Regions from separate parts of the Homo sapiens genome. Here all the other regions are linked to region 1. Evidence: promoter capture Hi-C in human tissues and cell types (Jung and others, 2019). All regions are on one chromosome and are shown on one strand. Each heading gives the region's core, a stretch centred on a gene start or on the middle of the fragment in contact. The rest is flanking DNA. Distances are from core to core; before and after follow the strand shown. Region 1 holds the start of HTRA3 (HtrA serine peptidase 3). Region 2 overlaps SH3TC1 (SH3 domain and tetratricopeptide repeats 1). Region 3 overlaps HTRA3 (HtrA serine peptidase 3).

The links. Contacts are between HindIII fragments. The study calls those that stand out against the background at their distance.
Region 2: a contact is called between a fragment that was not itself captured here and the fragment with the promoter of HTRA3 in region 1, in 1 of the 25 tissues and cell types used here (thymus).
Region 3: a fragment that was not itself captured here is called in contact with the fragment with the promoter of HTRA3 in region 1 in 1 of the 25 tissues and cell types used here (spleen).

What each region holds. Positions count from the first base shown.
Region 1 is chr4:8,267,030-8,271,790 of GRCh38, forward strand. It overlaps HTRA3 (HtrA serine peptidase 3), which reads left to right and starts at 2,725. Exons shown (of 9, transcript NM_053044.5): 1 at 2,725-3,324. The coding sequence starts at 2,940. LOC105374373 (a long non-coding RNA gene) reads right to left here and starts at 3,152. Exons shown (of 2, transcript XR_001741572.2): 1 at 3,078-3,152; 2 at 1,577-2,367. RefSeq lists a silencer at 261-410. The HindIII fragment of the contact is 12,405 bases long and covers 453-4,761 here.
Region 2 is chr4:8,221,116-8,225,876 of GRCh38, forward strand. It overlaps SH3TC1 (SH3 domain and tetratricopeptide repeats 1), which reads left to right. Exons shown (of 18, transcript NM_018986.5): 10 at 1,725-1,855; 11 at 4,060-4,101. Among named protein-coding and RNA genes, the nearest start is that of SH3TC1, 24 kb to the left of the region's middle. The HindIII fragment of the contact is 3,460 bases long and covers 365-3,824 here.
Region 3 is chr4:8,301,967-8,306,727 of GRCh38, forward strand. HTRA3 (HtrA serine peptidase 3) reads left to right here. Exons shown (of 9, transcript NM_053044.5): 7 at 497-545; 8 at 2,218-2,313; 9 at 4,005-4,761. The coding sequence ends at 4,170. Among named protein-coding and RNA genes, the nearest start is that of LINC02517, 16 kb to the right of the region's middle. The HindIII fragment of the contact is 3,732 bases long and covers 971-4,702 here.

The DNA.
Region 1 (4,761 bases), core at 1,475-3,974:
GGGAGTAAGTAGAAATGAGCGAAGGAGGGGTGTACGTAAATTAAACAAGCTTCCTGGCATTGTTGAAGAACGAGCTGAGATAACACGGGCCAGAGGGCCGGCCCTGCGCCTGCACACGTTGGCCTGGCGGAGCCTGTATCTGGAGCTCTGGGCTGACGACAGAGGCGGTCCTGTGCTGGGAAGCCAGAGACTTAGAGGAACCTCCCGGGTGGATCCCAGGCCCTTGGGGAATCCTCTCCTACTCCTGGCCCCTAAGTCAGGTGTTCAGGGTTGGGGATGGGAGGCCCCAAAGTTTACTGAGTGAGAGGCAGTGCAGGGCGGGAGCAGCAGGGGGCGCGGCTCTCCTGAGGACAGCGCTGGGCTCCTGCCAAGCTCAAGGCAGCCACTGTGAGCCCTGCCTGCCCATTTCAGGGAAGAGCAAAGGCCACCCCAGGGAACTGCATCCCAGCTGCAGAGCAGAGAAGGGTCTTTTCACTCCGGGCCTCAGTTTCCCTCTCTGTACAAGAGGACTAAATCCCCACTGCAAGGTGGTCAAGATGGTGACCGTTGGGGGCAGCATGGTCTCCAGGGAGGAGCAAGGACTTGACCTAAGGACAGGCCAAGATCTGAGGCCCACCTGCCAGAATCTCTGGCCTTGCACTCCCCCAGCCCTGTTCTAAGGATCCTAACGCCCACCTCTCAGGCGCTTCGTGAAGACTGAGTCAAGTGTATGCAGAGCGCTCCAGCAGCCTCAGGGCCTACACATCGGTAGCTGTGGTTCCTTGGAAGCTGTGGCAGGCTGTGCAAACTCTGACCTGCTGCAGCGCCGGTCCTGGACTCTCTCAGAGACTCAGTTTCCCCATTGTAGAGGAAAAGCTTAGGGGAAATGAGCTCTTGGGCCCTTCCCAGGGACTTAGTTTTCTGCGCACTGAAGGATCCAGGGATGGAAAAGTGTTGATCTTCAGGGCCAGGTGTCTGCAGGAAAACACAGGCCCCCCAAAAAGCCAGCTCTGGGCCACAGTAGCCCACCAAGGCTTACTCGAGGGGCAGGCATCCTGGGCACGTGAAAAATTCTCCTTGCGCCTTAGGCAAGCCCACCCTGCAGAGACATGAACCGGGAGCCCTGGCCAAGGTTGAGGGAGGTTCAGCCCAGCCCTGAGGTCCCCAACTCCTAGCATTCTGGGTCATTCCAAAAAATGGCCTGAAATTCTCCACATCTTCAAAGTAAAGTGCACTTGAGGTTTGTAGAGGCAGAAACGCAGGTGCTATTGCCCCTTGTCAAAGGGCCTTTTAGGGGGAGAAGCTCCAGGTCCCTTCTCTCCCCGTCCCCTGGGACCCTTCAACCTTTCACTCTCTCTGGGTCCTATGGGGGCTCACACTTGGCGCCCCGCCTCCTCCCACCTCATCCTCCCCAGACATCTTGTCTGATGGGGCCGCTCCCTACTCAACGCCTCCCCAGGCCTTTGAGGACCCAGGGCCCTCAGGGATCAGGCCCCTCCACCTTCCCATTCCCCGAGGCCCTTTAACCTCCAGCTCCCCCTCCCTCCTCTGGACCAGAGGTACCCCTCCCCATTCTTAACTTGGGTATCTGTGAACCTGGATGGAAAAACGTCTTTATTTACCCCAACAACTCCAACTGAAGTCCAGCATTCATTCCTTTGGGGGTGCAGTTGACCCCAGCCAGCAGGGCCTGTGGCTCCACGGCCAGCAGAAGCAGTGTTTACATCCCCATGTTACCGCCCTCACCGAAGGTGTCTCCAGTGGCAGCCCTCTGCACAGGGCTGCTGCGAAGTGTCCACTGGTATCAGACGACAGACCGACCAGAACCTGCCATTAACATGCTGATAAAGAAGCCCATAGGCCACGCTGTCATGAATTGTTTCATGTATTTTGATAACTGTGTTTTGATAGAATTGTTCCCCTTTGTGACCCCATGGTCTTTGTTTTATGCGTTTAAATCTACTTGACGACATCGTTCTGAAAAGGACACCCAGGCTTCGCCAGGCAGCCCAGGGTACTAGGAACACACACAGTGTGAAGACCGCAGCTCCAGGCTGTGCGCGCGGCGTTATCTCCTGCTGCCCCGACCTGCTTTTGCTTGGGAGCCTCTGCCCAGGTCACGGCCAGCTCCCGCTTCCCATCCTTCCTCTTCAGGCTTGACATTCACCTCCAAGGGGGGTTCTGCCTTCTCTCACAACTCCGCAGCCTTCACCCCATCAGCTGACGCACTGTCACCAGATTCTGACTCTCGTGATGGGACCTGGGTCTGAAGGGGCCCTGCAGAAAATGCAGGAGCAATGATGAGAATGGAAACAGCTTCCGGTTCCGTGGACAGCGAGGACTCGGGAACACTGCTCAGCCATGGCCTCTGTGGTTCTTCCAACGACCCTATGAGGTTGAGAAATGCTGTCAATTCCCCTTTCCTGGAGGAGGAAACTGAGGCACAGAGGAGACTGGACACGGACAGACCCCTCCAGAGCGGGGAGAACGCATCCCCCAACGTTTCTGGGATAGGCTGGGCCCGGGGGTCCCCACCAGAAAGGACCCCTGCGTGTCTGTAGCCTCGGGTTTTCTCGACCAGGCCGACCAGAGTCCCAAGGCCTGCCGGGTGGGTCCAGGCCCGGAAGGCCAGGCGGGGCCCTGTCGGGGCCTGGGCGGGGCTGGCGGAGGGGCCGGGCCGCCCCTTCCAGCGAGGGCGGGCTGGGCGGTCGCCTTTAAAGGCGCGGGACCCGCCGCCCGCGGACCGTCAGGCTGGAGGGAGCTGGTCCCTGCGCTCCCTGCGCCCTGGGGATGCCCCTGCCGCCCTGACGCCCGCCAGCCTGAGCCACCGGCGCATGTGACCGCGCGTCCGCCCCAGTCCCATCCGTAGGCGCCCGGCGCCCGGCCCCGCAGCGGCCTCGTTGTCCCCGCCGGCCCCCGCCCGGTCTCCCGCGCTGCCACCCGCCGCCGGCCCTGCCGCCATGCAGGCGCGAGCGCTGCTCCTGGCCGCGTTGGCCGCGCTGGCGCTGGCCCGGGAGCCCCCTGCGGCGCCGTGTCCCGCGCGCTGCGACGTGTCGCGGTGTCCCAGCCCCCGCTGCCCCGGCGGCTACGTGCCCGACCTCTGCAACTGCTGCCTGGTGTGCGCCGCCAGCGAGGGCGAGCCCTGTGGCGGCCCTCTGGACTCGCCTTGCGGCGAGAGCCTGGAGTGCGTGCGCGGCCTATGCCGCTGCCGCTGGTCGCACGCCGTGTGTGGCACCGACGGGCACACCTATGCCAACGTGTGCGCGCTGCAGGCGGCCAGCCGCCGCGCGCTGCAGCTCTCCGGGACGCCCGTGCGCCAGCTGCAGAAGGGCGCCTGCCCGTTGGGTAAGCGCTCGGGGGCCAGGGAGGAAGTGAAGCTTCTTTCTCTTGGGGAAACTAAGGCCGGGAGTTAGGGCCGAGCTCGAGGTCGCCCTTCCCTGGGCACCACCGGGTGGCCCTTCAGAAATCATCCCACCAGCCCTCTGGTCTTTCAGATGAAGAAACTGAGGCCCGGAAAGGTAAACCGCTGTCCCCAAGGTCACAGAATTAGAGTCAAAAGGGAAACCCGGTGGTCTCCTGGCCACCCGAGGGGCCTCATCTAGGACTGTTTCCAGCTCTGGTCTCTTCAGAACTGATGTCTCGTGCCCATTCCCTTGATCCTTGGACCCCTGCTCTGTCCGGGTATTGAGTGAAGGGCACTCTTTCCTGCCCTAACTCTCCAGCCGGGGTGCCCTCTTGGGTGATGCCTTCTTTCCTGGAGACTGTGGTTAAGTGCATGTCTCCACAGGACTGTGTGGGAAGGGTCAGGGTGCAGGTCCCTGAACTGCTTAGGGCGCCCCAGGGAGAGGCTGCTTGGGGGAGAGAATGTCGGGGTCAGACCCTAGAACAGCCTCCCTTGAGGCAGTCGGCTCTAGGTTGCATCTCACCGTGCAGGTTGACTCTGTACGTGGAGGAAAATGCTGGAAAACCTGCTGTACCTTTTTCCCTGTTTGGGGTGCCTCTTAGGAAAGCAGACTCTGCTGTGGCCGGACAGGGGTTCACTGAAGACAGGCGACGGGCCCCAGGTTCATGGATAGGAGTCAGGGTCCTGCGTGCCATCAGCTTGCAGGTGGCAGGGAGAGATGCAGTAGCTGCCAGAACAGGCTCCGTGGAGCCTCAGGAGCACCATGGGGAGCACCAACTGCCGGGGCTCCTGGGAAGCCTGCAGAGGGCTTCCTCATTTTTTCTGCGGTCCGCTGAACACAATTCCAAGTGTTTTCATGGTGTAAAAAGGTTGGGGAACTGAGCGCTCTATTCCTGTAGTGGAGACTCACAGGCTCAATCTATCAGAGGTTCTGAGAAAACCTGCAGTGTCCTCAATTGATGAAACCCAGGGCTTCCCCAGAGAATTTCAACAGAGAGCTCTTCTTTTCTGGCAGAACACGTGACCTCCTCCCAGCACGCTGGGGTTCCTGGGAGCCCCGTGTGGGAAGCATCATTCGAGATTAGCTAGGATTATGTGGAAGAGCCACCGCAGGGTTTGGCGGGGAGTCCCAGTCCACCTTGTGCTGGTACAACGCCTGAGACTGGGCAGTTTATACAGGACAGAGATGTATTTCTCGCAGCTCTGGAGGCTGGAAAGTTCAAGACCAAGGTGCCAGCAGGCTTGGTTGTCTGGTGAGGGCTGCACTCTGCGGAAGGGAGGAAGCTGCGTCTTCACACGGCAGAAGTGCAGGCAGGGACAAGGCCGAACGCTGCCTGTAGCCTCTCTCATAAGGAGCTTCTGCCCACGCTCGAAAGGAG
Region 2 (4,761 bases), core at 845-3,344, 47 kb before region 1:
GGTGTTCCATGGGACACTCTTTGGGGATCCTTGGTCTAGCTGATCCCTACCATCTCCAAGGGAGACCACAAATTCTCAACAGGTCACTGGGGGCCGTGTGAAGTCAACATGTACTGAACTTACAAGGGGTCAGAGAAGAGCCAGGGAATGAGCTAGTTTGTTCCCTTCCTTTAACCCAGAAGGATGACGGGGCTGGGTGCCATTAGTCCTGTTCACAGCTGGAGAAATTCTGACTTCTCTCATTCACTCAACAAATGTTTGCTGAATATCTTTCCTATTCCAGACCCGGGGTTTTCATCTTTTATTTAGTGAACAACCTGGTAGCTCTTCTTTTTTTTTTTCTTTAACTTTATTTTTGACACAATTTCAGACTTAGAAGAAAGTTGCAAAAAGAGTATAACATTCCCACACGCCCTCACCCAGATTGCACAAATGTTAACATGTTATGACATTTGCTTTATTGCTTTCTCTCTTTCACTTCTATTTTTTTCTAAACACTTTGAGAGTAAGTTGCAAACATGATGTTCCTTTACCCCTAAATAATGCAGTATGTGGTTCCTAAAACCAGGACATCTGCTTACATAACTACAGTACAACTGTCGAAATCAGGAAATGAACGCAGATACAATGCCATTATCTACAGATCTTACTCAGATTTTGCCAGGAGCCACAATGATGGCCTTTGTAGACAATGACAATTTCAGACCACGTGTTCTATTCAGACGTCATGTCTTGCCTCCTTAATGTGAAACAGCTTTTCAGTCTTTTTCTGATGTTTTTAAAGAATACAGGCCTGTTATTTTGTAGAATGTGCTGTAAGCTACTCTAAGTTTTTTTAAAATCTGAATAAGATGCATTTCAAAGCTTCATATTATACTGGTAATTTAGTCCTATAAGCAAAAATTGCCTCCTTTCTCCTCCCCTCTCTCCCTCTCTCTCTGTTTCTTCCTGTAGTTCTTCTCCCTGACTTTATGAGAGTGCCCTGAGTGTATGTTGGGCACTCTGGGGAGCACTGAGGTTGTACAGAATCAGTGGGAGTTTACAATGTGGAGAGATTGGATTGGTTCTGTCTGCAGCTGTCACAGGGGACTTCATAAGGGAGGGGACATTTGGAATGGGGCTTTGAAGGCTGCCTAGGAGCTCACTGTCCTAGGACACCATTACTTGTTTGCATCTGTTTCAGCCTTTCCTGCTTCTGGGTATCTGCCCCTGGCCAGACAAGGCACCCCTTGAGGTCAGGATCTGGTTTTTTTTTTTTTTTTTTTTTTTTTTTTTTCAGACAAAGTCTTGCTCTGTCACCCAGGCTGGAGTGCAGTGGTGTGAACTCGGCTCACTGCAACCTCTTCCTCCTCTGTTCAAGTGATTCTCCTGCCTCAGCCTCCCGAACAGCTGGAATTACAGGCTCATGCCACCACGCCTGGCTAATTTTTGTATTTTTGTAGAGATGGGGGTTTCACCATGTTGGCCAGGCTGGTCTTGAACCCTTGACCTCAAGTGATCCGCCCACCTCAGCCTCCCAAAGTGCTGAGATTACAGGTGTGAGCCACCATGCCTGGACTTTTTGTTGTTGTTGTTGTTGTTTTTAAATCTCTGTCTCTACCCCTGGGCAGAGAGTAGTGCTCCGAGACTATCTGTCTGTCAAATCAAGGAATGGAAATGTGCTTAGTGTGAAATGCTGACTTTGCAAATATGTTGTTTTGAATAAAGCACTTTATTTTTTCCAGGTTGGAAAGTGCGATTTTTCTCAATGAGGAAGAAAAGTCATTCTTCAGCGAGGGCTGCTTTTCTGAGGAGGATGCCAGGCAGTTGCTGAGGCGGATGTCGGGCACCGATGTCTGCAGCGTGTACAGCCTGGGTGCGTGTGGGCGATGCCTGTGGTGGGGCCACTGCCCTCCCCTTTCCCTTCTGCAGCCCCTGCTGCCCTCGTCCATCCACAGATAGTGCCAGCCCCTGGATGCTGAAAGGTGAACAGACAGAGGCTGCCGCTGCCTCCAGGGCACATAGGGGCTGCAGACAAGCCAGACAGGAGAGAGGATGGGTGAGGAGCTGAGGGCGTGGGAATGTGGCCCCTGAGACTCCTGTGGGCACCAGGGAAGCCCTTCCTGCCCTGACCCCAGGCACCTGCCTGAGACGCTGGGCGAGGGAGAGGGTATGGGTCTGGTTCTAATTTGCCAGCCCTGAGGGCTCCTGTTTGGGGCCCAGCCCTCTGCCCACTGCACTTTGCCTGGGTGAGAGTGACTTTTCTCCTTGTCACAAGAGAAAGAACCCAGACTGTGGTGTGGCCTGGTCACCTGGCTGCCAGGGAGTGTCATGGTGGGACCCCAGGGCTGCCGTCTCCTAAGGACAGAGATAGTCCCTCTGACCTCAGTGCCCCTCTGTGTGCAAAAGCTTTCTCTGGGGGCTGCAGTGCAACGCATAGATGAAGTTGGCATGTCATCCACAACATAAAGAAACATGGCAGAGGCCGTGCTATCTGCTGGGTGTAGATAAACACAAATGTGTGGCTACACACCCACTTTTTTTTTTTTTTTTTTTGAGACAGAGTCCTGTGCTGTTGCCCAGGCTGGAGTGCAGTGGCATGATCTCGGCTCACTGCAACCTCTGCCTCCCGGGTTCAAGCGATTCTCGTGTCTCAGCCTCCCAAGTAGCTGGAACTACAGGCACGCGCCACCACACCCTGGATTAGTTTTGCATTTTTTTATACAGACAGAGTTTCGCCATGTTGGCCAGGCTGTTCTCGAACTCCTGAGCTCAGGTGATCCGCCAGCCTCAGCCTCCCAAAGTGCTGGGATTACAGCTGTGAGCCACTGTGCCCAGCATCTACACACCTACTTGTATACCTATGTGCACATGTACAAACACAGACATAAACACACAAATACGCATGTAAATACACACTGTGTGCATGCACACATGCACTCACAAGTATACACACACACACACCCACCCATGCAGACATGTGTGCACATGTGCCTGCAGAGGTGTATACACACATACACACATGTGCATGCACCTTCCTCACAAGGTGTACACGCACACGTACATACATATCCATGCACCCCCTCACACACATATGCACACACATATATAAACAGATACATTTCCACACACACTTTTTTCCTGCTTGCTCGATGACATGCATTACAAGACCTTTTCTCCCACCAGTATTAGAGTTAACATTTGTAGATCCCACAAATCAACTTCCCTTCCTGAATGGACAAACTTAGACTTGACCTCAGCATATCAAGGCTCAGACCCCCTGGATGGTATCTCCTGTCCTTTTTAGGAAGCAGGTTTGGGACCCTCCACACCGTGGGGTGTTGTGGGCAGGGGCATTGCAGGGTGCAGGTGTCATAAGTGGGGGTGTTGCAGGATGCAGGTGTTGTGAGATGGAGGCATTGCAGGGTGCTCCCCAGAACTGCACACCTGTTATCGCAGTTCACAGCGCTTGACGCTGTCCACATCTCCACATCTTTTTACAGCTATTTCTCACTTGACCTCCACGGAAACCCAGTAAGCAGTTAGTGTCAGCCACTTTACGGGGGTGAAACTGAGACCCGGTAGCTGCCTGCCCTGGGATGAAGAGGGTGGGGGTGCACTGGAGCAGTGTTGATCCCTGGGCTGTCGGACTCAGAGCTGCTGCCTGTTCAATGCGCCCTGCTCCCTGATGGAGCTGATGGAAGCCGAGAGCGTGCTCCCCACTGATGATGGGAGGATGTCCCCAGAAGACGGGAGAGTGGAATCCCCACAGGGGTTGGGTGGGGTGGAGGCCTGGAGATGCTAGAACATGAGAATTCTCTGGCCCATTGGCTGGTGCCTCTCCCTCAGGTGTCAGCAGTGCTCCTATGCTGGTTGCACCTGACCCTGCAACACCTCAGCCTGCAACACCTGCACCCTGCAACACTCCAGCCCGCAACACCAGCACCCTGCAACATCTCAGCCCTCAATACCTGCACCCAGCAATGCTCTCACCCTGCAACATCGACACTAGCTCAACCTGGCAGGGGACCAGAGGTACTGGCTGGGGGTGTTGATTGCTTCTCTTTTCTCCCTTGCCAGACTCAGTAGAGGAAGCTGAGACCGAGCAGCCGCAGGAAAAAGGTGGGTTTTGCCAGTGGCTCAGGCTTCCTCTGGTTATGAGCTGGGCCTTGGGGTAACGCTGGGGGAGGTGACAAAGCTGAGCACGGTGGGCATTGGGTGCGGCTGTCACCCCTCTGTGGTGTGGGCTGGGGGCTTGGGGGAGGTTGCCTGAGGTGGGCCTGAACCTCCCGTCCACTGTGGCACTGGAGGCCGTGGGGTCCCGCACTTCTTCCAATGAACATGCTGGCCCCCGCCTGGTCCCCGCCCAAGATGGAGCATCCTTTCCACTGCTTGGGTCCACTTGTAGCTGTGGGTTCCTTTCTCATGACCTGGAGAAGCTGCAGCTTGCCCTCTGCTCTGCCTCAGAGATGGGAGGCCACACTGCCCTCAGTGGGTGGCAGAATTCAGAGCCTTAGGTTGCAGGGGCCTCAACTGAGGTCCCTCAAGGGTCTGCTCCTTCCTGAGGGGCTGATTGAGGGAGACCCTTCCATCTCCCCTCTACAGCTCTGTCTCTTCCCCTCACACAGGGTCCGCATGGGGAGAGCCTGGGGATGTGGACACCCCAAGAGCCCTCGGAAGTTCCCTGGGAATGGGATCCATTCCAGTACATTTGGGATGCAGGCAGGAGGTCCCAGAGGAGGCCTGGAAGCCAGTGGGGAAGGGAAGGCTGTTGTAGGTTTT
Region 3 (4,761 bases), core at 1,587-4,086, 35 kb after region 1:
ACTATCTCAGTGAGTTGCGTGTGCAGTGCCCCAGCCACAGGGCCTGGCACATGGTTAGTACTCACTGGACATTAGCAGCGAGTATCGTTTTGAGGAAGACCAGTGGGAGGTGATGAGTTCAGTTCCAAGCAGGGAACATTTGGGGAAGCAGCAGTATGGAAGCCAGAAAGGACAGCCCCACTGGCCACTGGGGTTGGGTTGGAGCTCAGCTGGGAGAGCAGATGTCGGAGCTCACATGGTTGGATGCAGGATGCGGTGGACATGAAGCCACCTGTGGGGCGAGCCACACTAGAGCTAGAATACCCCTCAGCTCCATGATGATGGTCAGGAGAGGGCAGCTTTGCTGGACCGCAGGGGGACTGGGCCAGCTCAAGCAGAATGACACCTGCTGCTTCCTGGTCCTGCAGGGGAACTTCTGTCCTCTGCCTGTCCCCTGAGGGAGCGTGGTGGCTTTTCACAGCAGCCCTAACGGAGTCTCGCCGTGTTTCATTTCCAGACTGGAAGAAGCGCTTCATCGGCATACGGATGCGGACGATCACACCAAGGTGAGTGTCTGAAGAGTGCCATCCCCTGCTACCCCTTCCTCTCATCCCTCACCCTGACCCTCCCTCCAGACCCTGGCTGGCTGTGTTCGGCTCCTTGCAGGTGCCCAGACGGGCCGATGCACTCAGGCCTCTGACCGTTGCTCAGGCCAGTCCTTTTGCGTGGACCTTTCCCTCTTTGCCTTATAGATTCCTTCTGCTCTTTCAGGACGCTATCTCTTTCCATGGCTGCTATAACAAATTACTATAAGCCTGGTGGCTTAAAACAGCAGAAATGTGTTCCCTCTCAGTTCTGGAGGTCGGGGATCTGAAGTCAAGGGGTCGGCAGGGCTGCACTCTGCCTCTGAGGCTCCAGGGAAAGCTACTTCCTTGCCCCTTCCAGCTTCTGCTGGCTCCAGGCATCCTTGGCTTGTGGCTGCCTCCCTGCAGTCTCTACCTCTGTCTTCACTTGACCTTCTTTCTCTCTGAGTATCTGTGTGCACATCTCTCTCTCGTTTCTCTTATGAAAACATCCATCATTGGAGTTAGGGCCCACTCTAAACCAAGAAGGTCTCTTCTCAAGATCTTCAACTAATGACATCTATAAAGGTCCTATTTCCAAACAAGGTCACATTCTGAGGCTCTGGGTGTACACGAATTTGGGGGAACACCATTCTGCATTCCCAGGACACTCAAGTGGCAGAAGGTGCCTCCTCATAGCACACAGAGCCCTGGCCTCCCTCTCCAGCCTTGAACTCATCCTGCTGTGTCGGAATCACCTGTGGTGGGACCGCCCCACCCCATCCTGCCTCCTCGGCTGTCAGCTCCTTGGGAGCAAGGACTGTGACCTACTTATTCCTCCACTCTGCCCCAAAAGCAGGTCCACTGCAGAGCAGGTGCCTGGAAATGCTGAATGAGTGCAAGAAAGAAGGGGCTGGGGGAGAGGAAGCAGGGGCAGGATAGAAGGGAGGCTGGAAGTACAAACTTGAGCTTCGAGGTTTGAAGAAGGGAGAGGTCACTGCATCGGGAGCCTAGGAAGAACTCGAGAATGCTCAAGTGACCATTTCCTCAAAGCACACAGTCCCTAAAGCTGTCATTCCTCCTGTTTCACCAACTCTGCTAATCTAGGGGTGACATTTGAAAAAAATTATCAATGTCCAGTATGCCAATTTATCTTTTGTTTTCTGTCTCTTTTATCTGTCTGTCCATCCCACCTCTGTCCAGTCTTCTGTCTGTCTGTTCCATGACTCAGCATTGTCTGTTCATTCCATGACTCAGCATTGTCTGTCCGTTCCGTGACTCAGCATTGTCTGTACGTTCCGTGACTCAGCATTGTCTGTCCATTCCATGACTCAGCATTGCCTGTCTGTCCATTTCTCCTTCTATCCACCCATCCAGCATCATTCCTTCATTCATCCATCCATCCATCCATCCATCCATCCTCCCGCCCCTCCTCCCACCTGTCTACCCACTCTCTCTCCTCTCTTCACGCTTCTAACCAGCTATTGCTACCACGTTTCTCTTAAGAAGCACATCTGGTAGGGGACACAGAGTGGCCAGTGGTGGGACAGGGCAGTATGGGGGCCCAGAGGTGGCTCCTCTTCTGGTCTGGTGCTGGAGGGAGGGAGGGGCAGCTTCATACCAAAGAGCTGGGCAAAGGCTCAGGGGAGGGGCCTTGACGGCAGACTCTTTCCAGCCTGGTGGATGAGCTGAAGGCCAGCAACCCGGACTTCCCAGAGGTCAGCAGTGGAATTTATGTGCAAGAGGTTGCGCCGAATTCACCTTCTCAGAGGTAGGCTCTGCCAGAGGAGATCGCTCGAGGCATGGGGCAGGCGTGAGGTCTGGGCTGGGGCTGCCCCACTGACCTCATGTGACCTTGAGCTTCCCAGCAAAGTGACCGGGAAGGGGCAGGTGGATTCTAGCGTGTCTGCTAAGCCAGAGGAGGCTGGAGAGCTGAATGGTCCCTAGAGCCCTGACTGTGTACGTCCTAAGTCCCACAATGTCATTTCCTTCGAGAAGCAGAGGCTGAAGAGTCCCTGTTGGGCTAAGAACCCACTCCAAGCCAGACTCTTTCACTAGCTGGGGACCAGCCTGGGTCCTGGGTCTTTCTGGGACTCAGCTTCCTCATTGTAAAGTGGAGATAATTCAGCCTATTGTTTTTTTTTTTTTTTTTTTTTTTTTTTTTTTGAGACAGTCTCCCTCTTGTTGCCCAGCCTGGAGTGCAGTGTCGCGATCTCAGCTCACTGCAACCTCTGCCTCCTGGGCTCAAGCGACTCTCCTGCCTCAGCCTTCTGAGTAGCTCAGATTACAAGTGCCCACCACCATGCCCTGCTAATTGTTTTTGTATTTTTAGTAGAGAAGGGGTTTCACCACGTTGGCCAGGCTAGTCTTGAACTGCTGACCTCAGGCGATCCACCTGCCTTGGCCTCCCAAAGTGCTGGGATTTCTACCCCCAGGAGACTTTGTAGATGAAATGGATAAAGGATTGCTTTCTTTGAAGTCTTCCAGTACTAGAGAAATGTTAAGCATTGCAACACCATAGGCTGAGGCAGGCGTGCAGCGACACTACCACATGCTGGCATGGCTGACCCACTCCCAAGAAGGGCTCTGAACCAGTTGCCTCCCCTCCTTAGCCTCGGTCTTCATCTGCAGTGGGAAAAATCCACATATAAGTGGACCCACACAGTTCAGACCCATGTTGTTCAAGGGCCGACTGTACTGTGCATCCTCAGAGGCTGGGCTTGAAGGTGGGAGGCCCCGCGTGAACTTCTGTGATGAGCACAGATGGCACACTTGTCCTGCCCGCAGCAGGCCTGCAGTAAAAATTGTTGAAATTGGGTGAAATTTTCCACACACATCTCAGTTAATCCTCACTGCAGCCAGGGAGGTGCAGGCTCCTGCCCTCACCCATTTTACAGGTGGAGGGACTGAGGTTTAGAGAAGTTACTCTTCCAGGTCACACAGCTGGCATGTGAGGGTCCTGATGCTGGTGCCCACGCAGCTGAGCACAGTACCATCACCTTCCTTCCCAGCAGTGGGGAGGTCTCAGTGAGCCTCATGCAGAGAGAAGGCTGGCCCCGTGAGCTCTGCCTCCCACATAGACGTCTTCGTAACTGCAGTAACAGCAGAACCTACTCCTGGGCCTTTATAATTTGCAAAGTGCGTTTCCACATAGGATGGTAGACATGAAAACTGAGGCACAAGGGGACAGAGTGCCTGGCCCAGCTAGGAGGGCTGCAGCGGGAGCTTGAACCCACCCTTCTGACGCATGGGAGAAGCAGTTTGAAAGGTTGTTTCCCTGTCGTGTGACATTGGTTTTCTTCTGGTGTGAGAGCTTTGGGGCTGGGGCACTGTTCTTTCCCATCGAGATGACTTTTGTTGAAATGTTGTCATTGACCCTGACTGTGCCTCGCTCTGGGCCGGGCCTGGGAAGGCTGTGCCTGGGGAGGCGGTGGGTGGTGACCCCGTCTCTCCTGTTGGCAGAGGCGGCATCCAAGATGGTGACATCATCGTCAAGGTCAACGGGCGTCCTCTAGTGGACTCGAGTGAGCTGCAGGAGGCCGTGCTGACCGAGTCTCCTCTCCTACTGGAGGTGCGGCGGGGGAACGACGACCTCCTCTTCAGCATCGCACCTGAGGTGGTCATGTGAGGGGCGCATTCCTCCAGCGCCAAGCGTCAGAGCCTGCAGACAACGGAGGGCAGCGCCCCCCCGAGATCAGGACGAAGGACCACCGTCGGTCCTCAGCAGGGCGGCAGCCTCCTCCTGGCTGTCCGGGGCAGAGCGGAGGCTGGGCTTGGCCAGGGGCCCGAATTTCCGCCTGGGGAGTGTTGGATCCACATCCCGGTGCCGGGGAGGGAAGCCCAACATCCCCTTGTACAGATGATCCTGAAAGTCACTTCCAAGTTCTCCGGATATTCACAAAACTGCCTTCCATGGAGGTCCCCTCCTCTCCTAGCTTCCCGCCTCTGCCCCTGTGAACACCCATCTGCAGTATCCCCTGCTCCTGCCCCTCCTACTGCAGGTCTGGGCTGCCAAGCTTCTTCCCCCCTGACAAACGCCCACCTGACCTGAGGCCCCAGCTTCCCTCTGCCCTAGGACTTACCAAGCTGTAGGGCCAGGGCTGCTGCCTGCCAGCCTGGGGTCCCTGGAGGACAGGTCACATCTGATCCCTTTGGGGTGCGGGGGTGGGGTCCAGCCCAGAGCAGGCACTGAGTGAATGCCCCCTGGCTGCGGAGCTGA